Linked DNA regions of Homo sapiens: region 1 is linked to region 2. The links are contacts of gene promoters, found by promoter capture Hi-C in blood cells and fetal thymus (Javierre and others, 2016). All regions are on one chromosome and are shown on one strand. The core of a region is centred on a gene start or on the middle of the fragment in contact, and the rest is flanking DNA. Distances in the headings are between cores, read along the strand shown.

What was found. Contacts are between HindIII fragments. The CHiCAGO score rates a contact against its expected background, and 5 or more counts as called.
Region 1: a contact is called between a fragment that was not itself captured here and the fragment with the promoter of NEFH in region 2, in 1 of 17 cell types (megakaryocytes). The highest score is 6.7, in megakaryocytes.

What each region holds. Positions count from the first base shown.
Region 1 is chr22:30,002,533-30,006,920 of GRCh38, reverse strand. MTMR3 (myotubularin related protein 3) reads right to left here. Exons shown (of 20, transcript NM_021090.4): 9 at 3,928-4,041. Among named protein-coding and RNA genes, the nearest start is that of MIR6818, 2.3 kb to the left of the region's middle. The HindIII fragment of the contact is 1,301 bases long and covers 2,484-3,784 here.
Region 2 is chr22:29,477,869-29,482,393 of GRCh38, reverse strand. NEFH (neurofilament heavy chain) reads right to left here and starts at 2,176. Exons shown (of 4, transcript NM_021076.4): 1 at 1,249-2,176. The coding sequence starts at 2,131. LOC107985541 (a long non-coding RNA gene) reads left to right here and starts at 4,268. Exons shown (of 4, transcript XR_001755482.2): 1 at 4,268-4,384. RefSeq lists enhancers at 300-1,154, 3,715-4,216. The HindIII fragment of the contact is 8,116 bases long and covers 979-4,525 here.

The sequences.
Region 1 (4,388 bases), core at 1,885-4,384, 520 kb before region 2:
TCTCAATTACCATAACATCACGGAGATCCCTGTAAAGTTACCCAAAAAAATGACTAACAGGGGTCAGGCATGGAGGCTCACTCTGCAATCCCAGCACTTTGAGAGGCTGAGGCAGGAGGATCACTTGAGCCCAGGAGTTCAAGACCAGCCTGAGCAACATAGCAAGACCCCATCTTTACAAAAAAGTTTTTACAAATTAGCCAGGCATGGTAGCACATGCCTGTAGTCGCAGCTACTCAGGAGGCTGAGGTGGAAGGATCCCTTGAACCCAGAAGGCTGAAGTTGCAGAAAGCTATGATTGTGCCACTGCACTCCAGCACTCCAGCTTGGGTGACAGAGCAAGACCCCATTTCCAAAAAACAAAAAAGAATTAATGTGTACTCTTAGTGAAAATAAATCAATATTCGTAACTTAAATCTATAGGTACTACACTAATTCTGCTACCCAATAGTGAAATCTGCTACCTTCTTAATGCTGAACCAAGAGCCCGCCTCTGGGAATAAAACATTTACCTGGCCCACAGTGAACTGCTTTACAAAATCTCCTGAGATTTCATGAGTCACAGACTGCTCTTATAATAGGCAGATAGCTCAATGAGCCAGCTACCCTTCCTAGGGCTCTTAAGAAAGAGAAGAAGAGCATCAACCTCAGAAAACCATACTCTGACATATCCTTTTCCAATAAGACAGACCAGAAATCACAGTCTACTTTAAGGTGCTATTAAAACCCAGACTTTTCCTAGTTAGGCAATTTTAACTGATAAAAAGTTAGAAAAATTCTATTACTTGGCAGTAAAGAGGAATAAAGTTCTGATACAGGCTAGGACACTGATGAACCTCAAATATGTTATGACAAGTGAAAGAAGTCAGTCACAAAAGGCAACTTATTGTACGACAATTAACATGAAGTATCCAGAATAGGCGAATCTATAAAGATGGAAGTAGATTTCTGCATGTAGTGACTATTATAAACTCGTAGTTACTTAAGGGAGCTTGCCTAATTCTAAGTTGGGGTTACTTAAAACGAGTATGTTTCTATATAAAACTGAAGCACTCTATGTTTTACTAGCAGGGGCTTCATCCATTGGACATCTTAATTATTCAGGGCTAGGGTGGCTGGGTGCCCTGTGAATGGGTTTTTTGGGACGATGAAAATGTACTGTAATTTGTTTTTACTCCTAAAACTCACAAATAAGTTAAATTTGGCACTAATCAAATTCCACTGAAATCACCAGTTTGCTTGTAGTTTTTAAAGCCTCCCTCCCTGGGAGACAAGTAGCTGTAAGTACTTGTGTATTGCCAACATGCTCAACTGGCTCACGTGCTGAATGGGGCCAAAATAGAAATAAAACCTCAATGATTCTTTATAAAATGTCTCCTAGCAAATAACAGGCAACCACTGAGCTGAATGACTCCAAACCCTGCACAAGAGGCTGGTTGGGCCTTTCCTGAACATCCTCCTCTTCTTCAATGCTTCCCAGCAGTGCCCAAGAGGAGCAGTAGATGGCGCTCTTCAGCCTGGATCTTGGGTTTTAGGGGACACTGCATTATAGTAGCTATTAGATTTCAACTGGACTATTGCAATAAACAATTATGTTTTCTGCAGTCTTCTAAAATGCTTCAGACTACATGAAAGATAATTCAAACACTACAGTTAAAAATCACTAAAGGAATGCATTTCTATCACTAACAGAACCAGGCAAAGTATAAAAATTATGATGTCCAACAGATAAAGCCCTCCCTACTAAAACACAGAATGCTTCAATTTTATATAGGAACAGAATTGTCTTAAGTAACCTCAACTTAGATTTAGGCAAGCTCCCTTAAGTAACTAGGAGTTTAGAATAATCACCACATGCACAAAGGAAAAAGCTGTGAACTGCACTACAGATGGGTGCCCTTTACATCATCTTGCTATGTTAGAGCAATCTCTACCTTCAGTTATAAATCCAATTAAGTGCTCTCTCATCACAGTAGGACAAAGCCCTAATCAAGCGCTGGTTCAGCATGGTGCTGTCAAGTAACTGCTGCTGGCAACCTCAGGAATCATGACCCAATCTACAGACAACTAAATTCAGGAAATGGATGTCAAGAGTTCCAGGCATCCTGCCACCTAGGCTGGCAAAGCAGAGCATGGTGGAGGATCCGATTCTTCCACACGCCCCTTACAAAGCTCCCAAATACTACAGCAACCCAGTCTGCATCTCAGCGATACAAGACACATGTTCTGAGACAGAGCCCAGTTCCAGGAAACCTGCCTGATTTTGCATGGATGACTACACCAAGAACTTTGTGATCTTTTGAAAGACTTTCTCTGAAAAACTGCAAATAAAATTTTTCATTTATATATCCTCTTGTATCTCTAGAAAAAGGGGGGGAAAACCTAGGGTGCATGCCCTCTAGAATTAATTTTAGAAGGTGCATGCCCTCTAGAATAAAATTTAGAAAAAAAGGAAGTTTTTCTTCAACCAGCCCTCTTAAGCTTCTCTTCCCAAAGGGAGAATTCACCTAAAGCCTCTTATTTTGCAAATAAGAGTACCTTCCCCCTTTTGGTCAAAGTCAGCAAGCCCCACAGATGCCAGGGCTGCTGACCTAACACAGTTGTTGGCCAGAGCAGCAACTGGCTGCTTTCCCCATTCCAGCTGAGCTGATCATTGATAAGACTCATAAATCCCTTCAGCTTTCACTACTCTCTAGTTCCTGTAGCATCCTTACCACTTGAATGACAGGTAAATTTGGTGACTGACTTTTCTAGGGGTGTCTGAAAACAACAGTGATGAGAATTGAGATTAAAAACGTAATGAGTTCCACTGGGCCAGAGCAAATACTTTTCCATCTCTCTCCATTCAGAGTGGGCATCAGAGTTTGCCTTTAGTAGACTAAATGAACAAGCTGGTTACCTCTGTAGGAATTCCACAAGGAGACAAATCCCTTCCTACAATCTCAATATTTCAGTGGAATGAAGTTTCTAACTGTAAGCCACTGGATTGGCCCAACTCAGGGAGAGTCCAAAAAGCCGGCAAACTGGGAAAATGAAATGGAGAATGTAAACATTACAAAGAGATGACATCCAAAACATTTCCAGAATAAGAAGGAAGGACTTCTTTAAAATTTAATAGGATTCTGTGAGAACTAAGATATTCAATGAATTACAAAAGCAGCACTCAAGAGATTTAACCTATTCCAAATGCTGGTACAGAAGCTCAGTGTTTATAGCCCCTCATTTAGAATCAGAACATATCTACAAAATAAGAACTACCATTCCCATTGTATTCATTAGGAACAGACTGAGGTCAGTTAGGGAACTTATTCAAGGTGCCTTAGCAAGAAGTCTAAGAATATACCTGAATTCAGATCTGTGATTCCAAAATCTGTGCTCCATCACCATGCCACCATCCCCATCTAGAACTTGCATCCCATGGCTCTCATGCCTCTGATCACTGAAATCTTCTATCTAGTCATGCCTCAGTCTTCTTCTCTAAATGCTTCCTCTCGAAACAGAGTTCTTCCACATGTCAAAGTTTCAACCACAAAGACAATCAGAGCCAACTCGACCCTATATTCCCAAAGATCACTTTCTAAGACTCATCTCTCAATCCAAAAGCCCTGCTAACAGCTGAAGCTAAATGCTTAGTAAGCACATTATCTTCTCACAGAATGTAAGAAGGATATTGAAATAGCAAGTCCAGCCACTTTACAACTAAAACTTTCTTATCTGTTTCAAATGAACAACCAGCTAGTGTTCTGAATGCAGTCAGTACTGATGTGTTACTGGAGGAGAAGCTTTAACAATAAGGAAGTACAGCCTTGCCTAGAAAGTTCTCTGAACTCTCCCCACCCTTCCCAGGTTAGCAGCAGCAGAGGCAGCAGACCATATGCAGCAGGCAGCAGCACCAGCCCAAGCTGGGACTGGTCCAGTTTAACTTACCTGTAGATGACGGCAGGGATGCGCTTCCAGGACCTGAAACTTGATACACTTTCCAGTTCTTTGTCAGTGATCCAGGCAGGCACTATGAGCTCTTGAGGATAGCTACCACATAATCTAAAGAGAAGATGAGAAGTGGGGAGAGTCAAGGGGATAAGAGAGGGAGAGAGAAAACGGGAGAGAGAGAGAGACACTAGGTGAGCCAGCATAAGGATGATGATCTCACTGCCACAGAACCAGTTAAAGGCAATGAGGCGCTTTATTCGAGTTTTGGACTCCTCAACAGAATGGGTTACCATAAGTGTGTTTTGTTTTGTTTTGTTGCCTTAAATGTTTACTTATGTGTATACAACAAATGATACTATCTTGAATTGTTCCACTTGATGCTACCTTTTGGGAATCTGGCAATCTTAACTATCAATGAAAAAAAGGGGAGTCGAGGGTCAGCTCTTTATACTCCATTA
Region 2 (4,525 bases), core at 927-3,426:
CTTTAGCTCGTAAAAGTGAACATCCTGAATCCCCAGATAGTGGCACTCAGGGCACAAGTCTTGGCGGGGAGGAAGGAAGCCAGCTGAGTGGGCCAGTACAATCCTGGGACGTCTGCCCCTACGACTGGCAAACCCAAAAGAGGTTTGCGCAGGGAGGGGCCTTGCTGCGGAGATGGAGGAGGGGATGGTTCTGCTCTGCAGAGGAGTGGAAAAGGAACAGAAAAAGCTATGCATCAAAATCCCAGCTTTCCCTGCTAGTGCTGGCAAAGACTTAGAAACCATCCAGGTGGTTGGAGATTCTCAACTATTGTCGATCACAGATGCTTTTGGAAAATCACTGAAGCCTCTGCCCTCTCTCTCAAAAACAACGCAAAGTTTTACAGACAGTTTCGTGAGACATCATGGAACTCCCCGGATTAAGCAGCCCAGTTGATCTACCCTCCTCTTTCAACTCAAAAAGAAATGAAAACCAGAGAGGGCAAGTGTTGGTCAAGGTCACCCTGCAGCTGCTGGGCACAGCCTCAGGGCAGCGCAATCTAGCTGACTCAGGGCTGCAAGGAGTTGGGGGAGGGGCAGACTTGGGAGGCTCCCAGCTTCCCTAAAGGAGAAAGGGGACATTAAAACATGAAAGGGCCCACCAGCCACCTCCGCCACAGGCAACAACTGACTGTAGTAATGGTTCCCTCTAGGAAGAAAGGATGCGAAAAGGTCCTGACCCACCCCCACGTGGAAGATTTAAGGTAGGAACGTTAAGCACTGAGCAGGTAGTGGGAAGGAGCCTGGTAGGGGTGAGAGGAATAGAGTTTCTTGCGGGGTGTAGGAGAGGGCATGGCAGCATTGGCGGGGAAGCCTTGCTACTTAGAAGGGCTAAGAGTCTCCAGCGCTTGCAGACCAGAATCCTGCACCACTTTTTTCCTGTAGAGGAAACTTGTTTTTTTCTTGACGGGGGAGGGATCTCAGAGTGGGGTCGCCTAAGCTTGGGGTAGAGAGCAGCAGGGGGCCCAGAGTTGAAGTACAGCCGTAAAGAACCTGGAAAGGGGGAACCGAAGGACAACCCAGAGTTGGGGCGTCCCACAAGAGACCCAGAGTAAAACTGCGATTTAACTAGGGGCATGCACTTTGCAGAGGGAAGGTGAGCAGCGCGCCACTCCACGCGCAGTCCGGCAGCGCCCCCTTGGGTCACGCAGCCCAAAAGTTCGCTGCGGGGTCAGCAGGGGCGCCCCTCCCCCCACCCGCGCGCCTGCGTACCTCGGAACCACTCCTCGGACTGCAGCGTGCTCTGCACCGCGTGGCCTTCAAGCTGCGCGCGAATCTCGCGCAGCGCCGACGTCACGTCGCACTTCAGGGCGTCGCGCGTCTCGGCCTGCATCTGCGCCTGCGCGGCGCCGGAGCCCTGGATCTGGCCGAGCAGCTCGCCCACCTCTTCCTGGTGGTGGCGCCGCAGGTAGCCGCACTCCTCCTGCAGCGCCTGCGCCTTCTTCTGCAGGTCCACGCGCGCCGCCTCGGCCTCCTGCGCGAAGCGCGCCAGCGCGCGGGCCGCCGCCTCGGCCTCCTCTCGCTGCCGGGCCTCGTCGTCTAGGCGCTGGCGCACGTGCGCGATGTCCTCGAGCAGGTGCTCCTGCTCCAGGCGTAGCTGACCGCGCGCCGCGCCCAGGCGCAGCACCGCGCCGCGCATCTCGCGGACCTCGCGCTCGTACAGCTCGCCCATAGCGGAGCGGCCCGCCTGCTGCTGCCGCAGCGCCGCAGCCTCGCCCTCCAGGCTGCGGTTGTGCGCCTCCAGCTGCCGCACCTTGTCGATGTACCCGGCGAAGCGGTCGTTCAGCGCCTGCAGCTGCTCCTTCTCACTGCGTGAGGTGGCCACCGCCACCATGCAGCCCTCCGGCCCGTTGCTCAGCGTGTCCAGCGAGTCGGTGCTTGAGGCGGCGCCTGCGCCACGGAAGCGGCTGGGCGAGGCGGACACGGAGCTCACGGACGTCCGTGTCCACGAGTGGAAGCCGCTGGAGGAGCCAGCGGCGGAGCGCGTCCCGCCTGCGCCACCCTTTCGGGCTAGCGCGTAGTGGAGGCTGCCGCCGCCATGCAGCGGCGCGAACGGGGCGCCCAGCAGCGCGTCCGCGCCGCCGAAGCTCATCATGGCCTGAGCAGGTGCGCGAGGCCGGGACGGGGCGGGAGGCACTGCGGCAGCACCAGGGCGCCGGCCCTTTTATAGCCGCCGCGGCCGGGTCCAACCCCTTGGCAGTGAGAGGGTGGGGAGGAGGGCCCCGCCCTCTCCGCCTCCTCCCCTGCGGCCCCCCGGCCGACCGGCTCCGCCGCAGTGAGAGGGGCGGGGCAGGGGACCGAGGAGGGAAGGGGAATCGACGCTGCGTCAGAGGAGACCCTCGAGGTCGGGGAAGCGGGCAGAGGACTCCCGGAGTGGGCCAGTGAGGACCCCCGGGTGCGCGTCGGAAGAGCCTGCGAGTGTGTTCGGAATAAGAAAGGGGACTTGAAACAGGGAGAGGACAAGGAGAAACCTGATGGGAATAGGGGCAGGATGCCCTCGGGATGGAGCAATGGAAGATTGCAGTCATTAGGATGAGGGGATCCCTGTATGAGACAGGACACGAGGCTTTCCAAATAGTTAAGAGAGGCTTTCAGGATAGGGGGTGCAGAGACTGTGCAGCCAGCCCCGGAACAGAGGAGGGAGCAAGGCAGTCCTGAATGGGAGCATGGACGCTCCATAGAACGGAGACAGGAGACCCCTGACCGGGGGAGGTACAGTGTTCTCCTAACATCTAGAGGACCCACTTGGAGAGCGCTCAGGAAACTCCGCGGCCAGCCCCGGAATAGATGAAGGGGGACCTGGAGTTGGGGAGAATAGCAAGGCTACCCTGAATGGGGGTATGGGAGACACTGCAGAGGATGGAGAGAGGGAACCCCGGATGGGTGGGGTTGGGGGGAGGCAAGGCGTTCTCTAAAAAGTCTGCAGTGGCCCCCGAGAGAGGAGATGGGAGACCCTGCTGCCAGCCCCAGTAAAGGGGACGGACCCTCAGCGAAGCGGGCAGAAGGTCCCCTGAACAGGCAGGAGAAAGCTGGGCTGAGTTTGAGGGGCAGAGAACCTACAGTGGGGGTACCGTAGGAGGGCTTGGGCATGAAGTTGAGAGAGCTGGCCCCTGTGTGGGGTGGGGGGAAATGATGGGTGTCACCCGAGCCAGCTTCTGCACACTGGGGTCAGCTAGGCAGTTTGCTGGTCGAATGACCTTGGACAAGCTGTGTCCTCCCACCCTTGTTTTTCCATCTGTACAACGAAGGGGTCTTGCCCCAGAGACAAGCTCCAACTCCTGACCCCCGACTGCCCCAGGAAGTTCCACTTTGAGGGGTCTCTGGCTGAACTGGGGATGGGGAACCCACATCTTGCCGTTCTGTCAACACTAGGAAGTCCTCTTTTCTCCCTCCCCCTCCCCATCTTCTCAGCCTCAACTTGTCCTCTCTTCCCCCACTCCTGTAACAGACAAGCAGGCGCCTGAGTCGGCATCCCTTCTCTCTTACAGGGAAGTGATGAGATGCTTTCTGAGTACCAAAGTCCCTCACCCCAATAGGATGTCAGGTAGAAGAAGGGGTCCCCAGGATTTAGGGGGCCCTGCAACGGCTGTGACATTTGGCTCTTTATTGGTTTTGGCTCATGTTTTATGCTGTGGGAGTGGGGGTGGTGCTGCGGCTGGCGCTTCAGCACCGGGGACAGGGCCTGCTCTTTGTTGGGCGTGGGGCGGGGAAAGAGATTAACCCTCTGCTTTTACTTTAGGGGAAGGAAGGGAGGGACACTGTGCTGAGGGGACCCGAGAGGGGAGGCAAGTGATCCAGCAGGGTCACATAGTGAGCCAGGGACCCCTCCCTGGACTTCCTGTCGGGGGTCCAGTTCCGTGTTTTCTGGGCTGTTCCCCTCCTGCTTAGGGACCCCTGCGAAAGGACCCCTGGGGATGCTGGGAGCCCTGAGACGCCCTTGAGAGTTTGTAGACTCGTACTTCCACTCTGAACCTCCCCCAGGCAGTTATCTCAACACCCACTACACCCCTACTTTACGCGGGTTTTCCTGCTCCAGGATCCCCAGGACAGAACAGACATATCCCCCAGGAAAGACCTCTGCCAGTTCCTTTCTCTTTGCCCTCTGTCTCCTTCCAGCCCCCTAGTTCTAAGCAGACCCTCAGAGCTGGGAAATTGATGGCGCTGTCCCTTTAACCACTTTTTACTGGAAGGAGAGTGCGCTGGGAGGAGGGAAGAGGGGGAGGGAGTTTCTGGTTTTGCATGAAGCAGCAGAACATGATGAAGCATTTTTCCCCCATCTAAAGATCCAGTCGTGCTCCAGTTTGCAGAGGGCAAGGGGCTGGTTGCAGGTGGTGCTGGGAGGATGGAGGTGAGTGGCTGGTCTGAGGTCCCTGAGAAAGGCATGGGGCGGGTGTTGGGCAGGACTCCCTTGCTCTCAGATGGCTCCCCATTTATTTGTCATTCTACTTGGAATTTTGCCATTGGAGCCTTGTTCCTCTGGGTCTTTTCA